Linked DNA regions of Homo sapiens: region 2 is linked to region 1. The links are contacts of gene promoters, found by promoter capture Hi-C in human tissues and cell types (Jung and others, 2019). All regions are on one chromosome and are shown on one strand. The core of a region is centred on a gene start or on the middle of the fragment in contact, and the rest is flanking DNA. Distances in the headings are between cores, read along the strand shown.

What was found. The method cuts DNA at HindIII sites, captures the fragments that hold promoters and counts their contacts. A contact is called where the count stands out against the background at its distance.
Region 2: the fragment with the promoter of OR7D4 here is called in contact with the fragment with the promoter of ZNF317 in region 1 in 1 of the 25 tissues and cell types used here (adrenal gland).

The regions. Positions count from the first base shown.
Region 1 is chr19:9,138,403-9,142,044 of GRCh38, reverse strand. It overlaps ZNF317 (zinc finger protein 317), which reads right to left and starts at 1,648. Exons shown (of 7, transcript NM_020933.5): 1 at 1,453-1,648. RefSeq lists enhancers at 1,626-1,835, 1,886-1,985. The HindIII fragment of the contact is 13,678 bases long and covers 1-3,642 here.
Region 2 is chr19:9,216,591-9,224,250 of GRCh38, reverse strand. OR7D4 (olfactory receptor family 7 subfamily D member 4) reads left to right here and starts at 4,662. Exons shown (of 2, transcript NM_001005191.3): 1 at 4,662-5,051. It also overlaps a transcript of OR7E24 not described here. The HindIII fragment of the contact is 21,358 bases long and covers 3,249-7,660 here.

The DNA of each region.
Region 1 (3,642 bases), core at 399-2,898:
CACCTGAGGTCAGGAGATCGAGACCAGCCTGGCCAACATGTTGAAACCCCATCTCCACTAAAAATACAAAATTTAGCTGGGTGTGGTGGTGGGTGCCTGTATTCCCAGCTACTCGGGAGGCTGAGGCAGGAGAACCGCTTGAACCAGGGAGACAGAGGTTGCAGTGAGCCGAGATTGTCATTGCACTCCAGTCTGGGCTACAAGGGTGAGACTCCATCTCAAAAAGGAAAAAACAACAACAACAACAAAAAACACTTTATTGAAAGGCATTAAAGAAGATGTAAATAAATGATGTAAATCAATTAACTGCAACTCAATGGCATAAAAACGACAATATTCCCAAAGTTCAAATATAGATTCACCACAACTTGAAAACAAAAGTCCAGTATGTGGAATTTGGTGAACTGACTAGAATTTAAGCCATGACATTCCTGAAAAAGAATGGCTAGGTGTAAGTACTTCATCTACAAGATATTTAGAAATCTCTAAATTACAAAGGTGTGCTTGAATCAATACAGAAAAAGATTGTTTCCAAAAATACTGAAGCGCCTGAGTTCATTCACAAATAATTACCAAAATTTAGGAAATATATTTTCTGGAAAAGATGTATACGCAGTCAAATCCACGGAGACAGTATTGGTGGGAGAGGAGGATGCAGTTTAGAAGAGGCACACAGCTTTCTGAGATTTAATAATCTCTTTCTTGGCCTGGTTTGTAAATTCGCTTTACTGTTGTCCTTTTAAGTGTGTGTAAGTCTGCGTGTGTGTGTAATCATACTTTTTTTGCATGTATGTCCTATTTTCCAGTGTTAAAATATGTGCATAGGAAAGGACACACCACAAAATAAGACGGTAAAATTCAATGGAAAATATTAATAATCACGATAAGTATAACTGGACTAACTCAAGTTAATTAACAAAATGTTGAACTGAATAGTAAATATACATATAGGCTATTTACAAGAGTCCACTAAAATTAAAATAAATAAAAAAGTGCAACCAGAAGGTCTTAAATTAAAAATATAAAAGGTACTCAAGGTAAGTGCTAATAAGAACACCAATGTGCTGACATTCACGAGATAAAATTGACTACAGCGCAGAAAGAAGGTGATTTCTCCTCGCGATGTCCAAATCCTGACGCCCCCCAATCTCCTGAACTGCCCCCAAACTCTTGAATTCACTTCAGCCGGGCTTTTCCGCCCCCACCAGAGACTTAGGGCTTTTCAGGATCAGGTGACCAATGCTTCTCTCATCACTAGCTGCAATGGTCCAATTTTATCCTTCGCGTCCCCAGCTTTTCATATCGCTGATCGCGAGATCTAAACGCACCCCTCGTCTGGATGCCTAGCTCTTTAGCCCCCGACCCTCGTACCCTCTTAGTCCTCACCGCCAGATAGGCCTCCCGTGACCCCTGGAACTGAGGGGGAGAAGGGTTAAGGAAAGCAGGGCTTACACGACTGGGAATAGGATCGGGGGAGCGGAGGTGACGGAAGCCGCCGCCGATGCGAAGAGAAGTTCATACGGGAGGTCCAGTCTGGCGTGGGGACACGAGGGGTCCCCAACAGGCCGAAAGAATTCGCCGCTGACCCCTCCTTGGCCCATGTGTCTCGGGGCAATCGACTCCAGAGAGTAATGGCTTCCGCTTCACTGCCGCCTTCCAATTCTCGCGGGACTTCATTGGCGGCGTCTAATACGGAAGCGGGGCGGAGAGGATGCTGGGAATTGTAGTTTTGAAGTTTGGATTGGCATGGCGGCCGTGCCCCGGTGGAATCTGACGGTCCAGCATATTTCTCCAATTTCTACTCAAGACTCAAATTTTCAACCACAACCCACAGCATTTTGTAGCCATCGTAGTGGTAAAGGTTGAATCAGGCAAGAATTGTCATCTACATGACACAACTGGGGGACATTTGCATGACGAGCAGAATATTTGAATTGCCTTAAATGCCTCTCTATAAACTGCTCGTATGTTGGAATGGAGAAAAAGTAATAGAAATTGTACAGCGAAGAAATTGGACAACATCTGGACCAGGTGATCAAATCAATATCACCAGTGAGGGTCAGATGGAGACCACGTGCCTCTGAATGACACCTTGGGAAGGGCGTAAAATCACCATCACCTGTGTGGTGTTCATCCTGCATATCTGCTATTTTGTATTTTTTGACCCACATCTTCCCATTTTCTTCCCCAACTGCCTCATTCTTTATTTCTGTGTATTTGAGCTGTCTCTCTTGATTAAAAAAAGTTCCTCATGTAAGTGACGTCATGCAATATTTTTCTTTTTGTGTCTGGCTTATTTCACTTAGCGTAATGTCCTCCAGGTCCACCCATCTTGTGATAAATGTCAGGACCTCCTTCTATTTCAAGGTTGAATAATATTCCGTTATATATATTATATGTTTTATACAATGGAATATATATTATATCATATTTATTATAATTATGTATTATGTGTATTATTACCGTATATTATATAATATATGCTAAAATAATATATGTATGTATGTTATATATATTATGGAATATATATTATATATAATATATATTATTTTAGCAGGAGGAGTCTGCATATACAAAATTCCAGAATCAGGCTGGGTACAGTGGCTCACACCTGTAATCTCAACACTTTAGGAAACCAAGGCTTCCCATGTAACCAGTAGGGGCAGAATTATATAGGCAGGAGAGACAGATGGTTAGTATTATCCAGGGCAGGTATTATAAAAGACAGAGAGAAGGAAATTTGAGGTTTTGGAAAATATATTATTGAGGGGATGGACCATGGTGCGTATATATATATATACACACACATATAAAATGTATGTATGGAATATATATGGATATAAGATATTCATATATAATATATAATCTATATTACATAACGTAATATATATTTCATAATACATAATATATACACCATAATATATAGCATATATACATATAATAATACATATAATATATAATATGTATTTCATATAGTATATTATATACATATATTACATATAATATATTACATGATATATAACATAATGGGAATATCTATTATGTAATAGGTATATATTTATATACAACATATTATATTAATATTTAATATAATATGAAATATATATCAATATTATATGATATTAATGTTGACATCATATATAAATACAAAAGAGATAGAATATTATTCAGACTACATAGCTGCTATTTTGTATTTCGTATTCATGTGAGCATCAATGGACATTCAGGTTGTTTCCGTAACTTGGATATTGTAAATAATGCTACAATGAAAATGAAAGTGCAGACATCGTTATGAGGTGATTATTTCATCTCTTTTAGGCATATATTCAAAAGAGGAATTGCTGGGTCATATAGTAGTTCTGTTGTAGATTTCTTTAAGAGCCTGAATACTGTTTTCCACAAAGGTTGTACCAGTCTGCATTCCCACCAACAATGTACTAGGGTTCACTTTGCTTGATGCCCTCGCCAACATTCATCTCTCATCTTTTTTTTCCTTTTTTTTTTTCTTTTTGCAATGGAGTTTCGTTCTTGTTTCCCAGGCTGGGGGGCAATGGTGAGATCTCAGCTACCGCAACCTCCGCCTCCCGGGATCAAGCGATTCTCCTGCCTCGGCCTCCCGAGTAGCTGGGCTTACAGGCATGC
Region 2 (7,660 bases), core at 3,413-5,912, 79 kb before region 1:
CAGGCCCAGCCCCAATCCATGGTGGAAATGGCACATCTGAGAATGAACCCAAACAGGACCAGAGGCATGAGAAAGCTGCACGTGTAGAAAGCCGAGACCCCGGCTGGGTGCAGTGGCTCACACCTGTAATCCCAGCACTTTGGGAGGCTGAGGCAGGTGGATCACGAGGTCAGGAGATCGAGACCATCCTGGCTAACATGGTGAAACCCTGTCTCTATTAAAAATACAAAAAATTAGCTGGGTGTGGTGGCACACACCTGTTATCCCAGCTAATCGGGAGGCGGAGGCACGATAATTGCTTGAACCCAGGAGGCAGAGGTTGCAGTGAGCCGAGATTGTGCCACTGCACTCCAGTCTATGCCACAGAGCAAGATTCAGTCTGAAAAAAAAAGCCAAGACTCCAGCAGATCCCAATGGCATTCACCATTATCGCACCAACACCACGCCTTTAGCTTGTACCTAGGGTCCATTGGGGAGCAGGAGATGTCCTGTACTATTAAAAAAAAAAAAAAAAAAGAAGAGAAAAATGCCTGAGTTTGCTTTATAGACAGATTGGCTTGGTATGTGAGTACAATAAAAAATGAGCCATGGCTTCATTATAGCCAAGTTCAGGGACACCCTGAAAAAGGGGTGTATAGAAAAAATCTCTGCAAAGGGTGGAACTGCAAGCGGCACATCTGGTCATCCACGTTGTCTGGAAGAAAAAGTCATTTGAGGTGGTGGGACCACCTGGTCATGGGCTTTGAAAGAAAATGATGAAACAGTGTAGACAGGTATGTAGATGGACATAGAGGACTGGATATGATAAATGAAAATATTTGTGTTGTATGTCACATAGGAGGCAGATAGGCATTCATTTTGCCACATAACATTTTCCAGCCTTTATCATTGGCCACCTGATGGTATGATGGCCTGATAAACAGAGTGGCCACAAGGGCTGATCCTCCCATTTGCAAAGATCCATTGAGCTGGTGCTGCTTCGGAATGTCCGAATGGTCAGCAAGAGACAATAGCAGAACACCCAGAGGGCCTTCTTTCTTGAGGAGACCAGCCAGCCAGGGGAGCAGGTTGACCACATGGGGCTCCTTCTATCTTGAAAAGACCAGCAGTTTATCCTCACAAGGATGGTGCAAATTATGCAAATTAAACAACAAGAAACATCAAACTCACAGAATGAAGAACAAAAGCCATATGACCATTTCTATAGATGCAGAAAAAAACATTTGACAAAAATTAACATCCTTTAATGATAAAGACTCAATGAGTTAGATATAGAAGGAATATACCTCAACATAGTAAAAACCACACACAAGAAACCCACAGCTAACATCACACTCAATGGGGAACAATTGAAAACATTTTATCTAGGGTCCAGAACAAGAAAGGAATGCCTGTTCTCACCACTTCTACTCAATATAGTAGTGGAAGTTCTAGCTAAATCAATTAGGTTAGAGAAAAAAAATAAAAGACATCCAAACTGGAAAGTAAGAAGTTAAGTTTTCCCTGTTTGCAGATGACATGACCTTATGTATAGAAAACTCTGAAGACTGCCAAAAACTGTTAGAACTAACAAAAAAGACTCAGTAAAGTTGGAGGATACATAATCGACATATAAAAATCAATAGTGTTTCTATATACTAACAGCAAACTACTCAAAAAAGAAATCAACAAAATAATCCTATTTATAATTGGTACCCCCAAAAATAGAATGCTTAGGAATAAATTTAACTGAGGAGGTGAAAAATTTGTACACCCAGAACTATAAAACATTGTTGAAAGAAATTAAAGAAGATACAAATAAATGGAAAGATATCCCATGTTCATGAACTGGAAGAATTGCTATATTAAAATGTCCATACTATCCAAAGCAATCTACAGATTTAATGCAAACCCTGTCAAAATTGTAAAAACATTTTTCACAGAAATAATTTTTGTGGAATCACTAAAGACACCAAATAGCTAAAGCAATGTGAGCCAAAATAACAAAGCTGGAGGCATCACACTACCTGATTTAAAACTATTTGACAAAGCTGTAATATCCAAAACAGCATGGTGCTGGCATAAAACTAGATACATAGACCAACTGAACAAAATATCAACCACAGAAATAAATCCATGTATTTATAGCCAACTGATTTTCAACAAAGGTGCCAAAGACTCACAAGGGGGAAAGGACAGTCTCTTTAATAAATGGTGTTGGGAAAACTGGATATCCAGGCAGAGAAGAATGAAATTAGGTATTTACTTCACACTATATACGAAAATCCATTCAAAATGGATTAAAGTCTTAAATGTAAAACCTAAAATAGAAAAGCTAGAAAATAACAAAAGAGGAAAACCTCATGATAGTGGTCTGAGCAGTGATTTTTTTGGATATGACCTCTGAAGCACAGACAACAAAAGCAATAGACAAATGGAATTACATTAAACTAAAAATCTCCACACAGCAAAGGAAACAGTAGAGTGAAGAGACAAACTACAGAATGGAGGAAAATATTTGCAAACTAGACATGTGATATGGGGCTAATATCCAAAATACGTAAGAAGCTCAAACAACTCAGTAGGAAGAAAACGACCCAATTTTAAAATGGGCAAAAGACAGCCTGGCGCGGTGGCTCACGCCTGTAATCCCAGCACTTTGAGAGGCAGAGGAGAGCGGATCACGGGGTCAGGAGATCGAGACCACCCTGGCTAACACGGTGATAACCCCGTCTCTACTAAAAATACAAAAAAGTAGCCGGGCGTCGTGGCAGGCGCCTGTAATCCCAGCTACTCGGGAGGCTGAGGCAGGAGAATGGCGTAAACCCGGGAGGCGGAGCTTGCAGCGAGCGGAGATCGCGCCACTGCATTCCAGCCTGGGTGACAGAGCGAGACTCCGTCTCAAAAAAAAAAAAAAAAAAAAAAAAAAAAGGGCAAAAGACCTGAAAGACATTTGTCAAAAGAAGACACACAGATGGACAACATACATTTTTTTTTTCTTGAGACGAGTCTCGCTCTGTCACCCAGGCTGGAGTGCAGTGGCGCGATCTCGGCTCACTGCAAGCTCCCCCTCCCGGGTTGAAGTCATTCTCCTGCCTCAGCCTCCCAAGTAGCTGGGACTACAGGCGCCCGCCACCACGCCCGGCTAATTTTTTGTATTTTTAGTAGGGACGGGGTTTCACCTTTAGCCAGGATGGTCTCGATCGCCTGACCCTGTGATCCGCCCGTCTAGGCCTCCCAAAGTGCTGGGATTACAGGCGTGAGCCACTGCGCCCGGCCCAACATACATTTTTAAAAGGTTTAACTTCACTAATCATCAGGGAAATGCAAATGAAAACCACAATGAGATATCACCTCACTTCATCTCAAATGGCTATTACTAAAAAGACAAAAGATAGTAAGTGCTGGCCAGGATATGAAGAAATGGAAACCCTTCTACACTGTTGGTAGGAATGTAAATTAGTACAACCATTATGGAAAAGAGTATGGAGGTTCCTCAAAAACTTAAAAATAGAACTACCATATGATCCAGCAGTCCACTACTGGGTATATATCAATAAGAAACGAAGTCAGTGTGTGGAAGGGATATCGCACTCCCATGTTTATTGGAGCATTATTCACAGTAGCCAAGACACAGAATCAACCTAGTTGTCTGCAAATAAATGAATGGATAAAGAAAATGTAGTATATATACACAATGGAATATGATTCATCCATAAAACACAAGGAAATCCTGTCATTTGCAACATGGATGAACTCAGAGAACATTGTGTTAAGTGAAATAAGGGAGGCACAGAAAGACAAATATCACATGATCTCACTCATATGTGGAATCTAACGAAGGTGATCTCAGAGAAATAGAATCCAGATTTCAAAGAAGTAGAATGTTGGTTACCAGACCCAGAGTGGTTTGGGGTTGAGGAGTAGTGTTGGTGTTGTGGAGATGTTAGTAAAAGAATACAAAATTACAGCTATATAAGAGAAGTAAGTTCAAGAGATCTATTGTACAGCAGGATGACTTTAGTTAATGATGATATATATGATATTCTTTGAAAATGCTAAGAGAGTGGATATTAAGTGTTCTCACCAGGATAACGACTCTGTGAGATAATGCGTATGTTAATTAGATACATTGAATGTCCACAATGTATATATATTTCCAAATATCAAGTTGTACATGATACATACATATAATTCTATAATTTAAAAAAATATATAAAAATAATTTGAAAAAATATTTAAAAAGAAAAGACATTTTTGTTTCCATGAATTTTCAACACCGAGGGATCCATAAAATCTCCAAAGACTCTTCAAGGGAGTCACATCGCTTGGAGATGATTCCTGAGTTTAGTTCCTTGCAGAAATTAATCTTTCCTTAGGGCAAAACTTGTGACTTTCAAATTAAACCGAAGAAAGAATTTCTTCTTGGGGGAAATAAATCCATCATGCCCTACCACTGCCTATTTCATCACAAAATTAACTGAAAAATTTCCATTCTATCATCTTCTTACTACTCAAAGGGAGCCAAACTCTTTGGAGAGTGGGAAGAAAATAGAACAATTTATTTAATAAGGTGCTCTGAGAATTCAACTCTTGAGACACTGGAAACTTAAAATGTGCCCCTGTTTAAACAACCTCACCTGTAATTCTCTGCTCCCAGCCTTTGGAAAAAACCCAGTACGGCTTCCTAGGAACAGATCGTGTAGAAGAGAAAACTTCAGTGATAACCATCAGAGTTAGTGTGACCCAGTGAGGGCTGGTGGGGTAAGAAGGAAAAGAGGAGAGAGAATAAGTACTAGCCTTCACAGTAATGAGCCTGGAAAGTCCCATACTTATTGAGTCTATGAAGGTGAAGTCCCTGTACTTTGATGGTACTTTAGTTTTCACAGAAACCAGTGTCTCCCACCTTCTGTTCTCACTCCTTGGAATCCAGGGCCCGTCTTTAATAAGTTATTTTCCGAACAGTCTCTAACTCTCCTGCACTCTTTCCTATAAACTTTAGTCTCCTGTTGAATTTCGTACATCCAGTTACTTATTCATTAACTACTCACGGAAGATCTACTATGCTCAAGGTATTGTCTATGTGTTCCTAATGTGATTGGATTTTTCTATTATATTCTATATTTTTCCTGGCAGATTATTGGTTACCAGACCCAGAGTGGTCTGGGGATTGGGGGTAGGGTTGATGTGGTGGAGATGGTGACTTATTTACAGCACTTACTAGCTGTTATGTTTTTGCTATTTCAACTTAGTATCCATGATATCATATAGAAATAATACAATTATTTCTGACATTCAACATGCAGTCCAATTTTTTTTCTCATATTAAAAATCCCTTGGCTGAACGTAGTGGCTCACATCTATAATCCCAGCACTTTGGGAGGCCGAGGCGGGCAGATCACTTGAGGCCAGGACCCTGAGACCAGCCTGGCTAACATGGCAAAACCCTGTCTCTACTAAACAATAACAAAAAAAGAAAGCCTGACACCTTAGCTTACACCTGCAATCCCAGTTACTCGGGAGACTGAGATGGGATAATTGCTTGAACCCAGGAGGCAGAGGTTGCAGTAAGCTGAGACTGCACCCCGCACTCCAGCCCAGGTGACAAAGTGACACCATGTCCCCCCCAAAAAAAAATCCATTTGCATGTTCACCAAAATATCAAAAGATTGAAATTGTAGTAGACGGCCTTTGGTGTATCCAGGAATTTAAACCCCTTACTGTTTTAACATAGCATATCTTGTTGCCTGTGGTATTAAAACAACCATTGTTTATCGGGTTAAGCAATTGTCCTTGGTTTCTTCCTTTATTGAGAGGATCTGCCCTGGTTGATAATCTTTTTCAAATGCATTTTTTCTATTGTGATTTTGTTTATGATTTCTCTTTACTGACCTGTTTTTGTGATGAATTATGCAGACATTCTTACATTAAACCTGCTTCCATTGTTAGAGCTGGTATTACTACTTCATTTATCATTATTTTAAAAGAGATATGAATATGTTATTTACTGTATTATTAAATTTATGTCTATATTCAAACATGTCTTAAACTTGAAGATTTCTATTTTGTGTTATAGTTGATGCTTTGGTCCCAGTCTTTATAGAACATTTCAATTTGTACTTGCTCAGAATCAGTAATGTGCTGGGCACCACGTAAATCCTTGTTAAATGATGAGACAAAACAATCGCAACCACTGTCTAAAACTAAATATAAGTTGACCAATGTGAAAGGGACAAGGAGGAAGAATATAGGATGTTCTATTTCTAGTCATCAAATACATATCCCGCTTTCATTCCCTGCTCCCCATCTCACTGGCATCTCAAATCCCTTCCTTTACAAGCTCAATGACCCATGGGACAATCTCGAATTCTCTTCTGTCAGCCTAGAAGATTTACCCTTTCCTTTCCTTACTTCCCCTAATTAACAATGATCCGGCCAGGTGCAGTAGCTCATGTCTGTAATCCCAGCATTTTGGGAGGCCGAGGTGGGCAGATCACTTGAGGTCAGTAGTTCGAGACCAGCCTGGCTAACAAGGTGAAACCCTGTCTCTACTAAAAATAAAAAAATTAGCTGAGCGTAGTGGCACACACCTGTAATCCCAGCTACTCAGGAGGCTGAGACAGGAGAATCGCTTGAACCTGGGAGGCAGAGGTTGCAGTGAACAGAGATAGCACCACTATACTCCAGCCTGGGCAACAGATCGAGATTCCATCTCCAAACAAACAAACAAACAAACCAATGATCCATTCTTCCTCTCTCAGCCCAAATTTTCCTATCTCAGAGAAGCCTCTTCTATCCACTTTCCAGGACTAAAGTTGGTCTTCAGTGATTATTTTTCCATCTTTAATTAATCAACATTCTCTAGGCATAAATAGTAACAACCTTTTTTCCATCATGAAAAATGCAAATTTTTTTTCAAACCTCAAAGTTGCCCTTTAGTTTTTTAGGATGATTTGATTTATAGAAATTTTTAAATTTTTATATCAAACTTATCAGTCACATTTCTTGGCAATTCATTGCCCTGATATTAGTCCAACATTCCCACTCAACTGCATGTGTACACAAGCACACATTCTCTCAGGCCTTGTCTTTGATTCTAATGGCGGTGTCCCTTTCTTTTCTCATCTTGTGTATGTAGTCCACAGGCTTTTGTTACTTCTTGGAGGAATACACTGGGCAGACATTCTCTGAAGCAGGGAAGCATAGGGATCTTCATGAGTTGAGAGTCCTGTGTGGTGGTCACAAGACGTAACAGACCTGTTGTATTCACAGTGATCAGAATTCCATCCTTGATGGCTGCCCCATGTAAGGGGGATATTGATATTGATAAATGATAGCCATGAAAGACAGATTTATTGTAATGTTAAAAACAAAAGTTCAGGCTGGGCACAGTGGCTCATGCCTGTAATCTCAGCACATTGGGAGGCCAAGGTGGGTGGATCACTTGAGCCCAGGAGTTCAAAACCAACCTGGCCAACATGGTGAAACCCCATCTCTACTAAAAATAGAAAAATTAGCTGGGCATGGTGGTGCATGCCTGTGGTCCCAGCTACTTGGGAGGCTGAGGCACAAGAATCACTTGAACCCAGGAGGCAGAGGTTGCAGTGAGCCAACATTGCACCACTGCACTCCAGCCTGGTCAACAGAGTGAGACTCTGTCTCAAAAAAAAAAGCAAAAGAA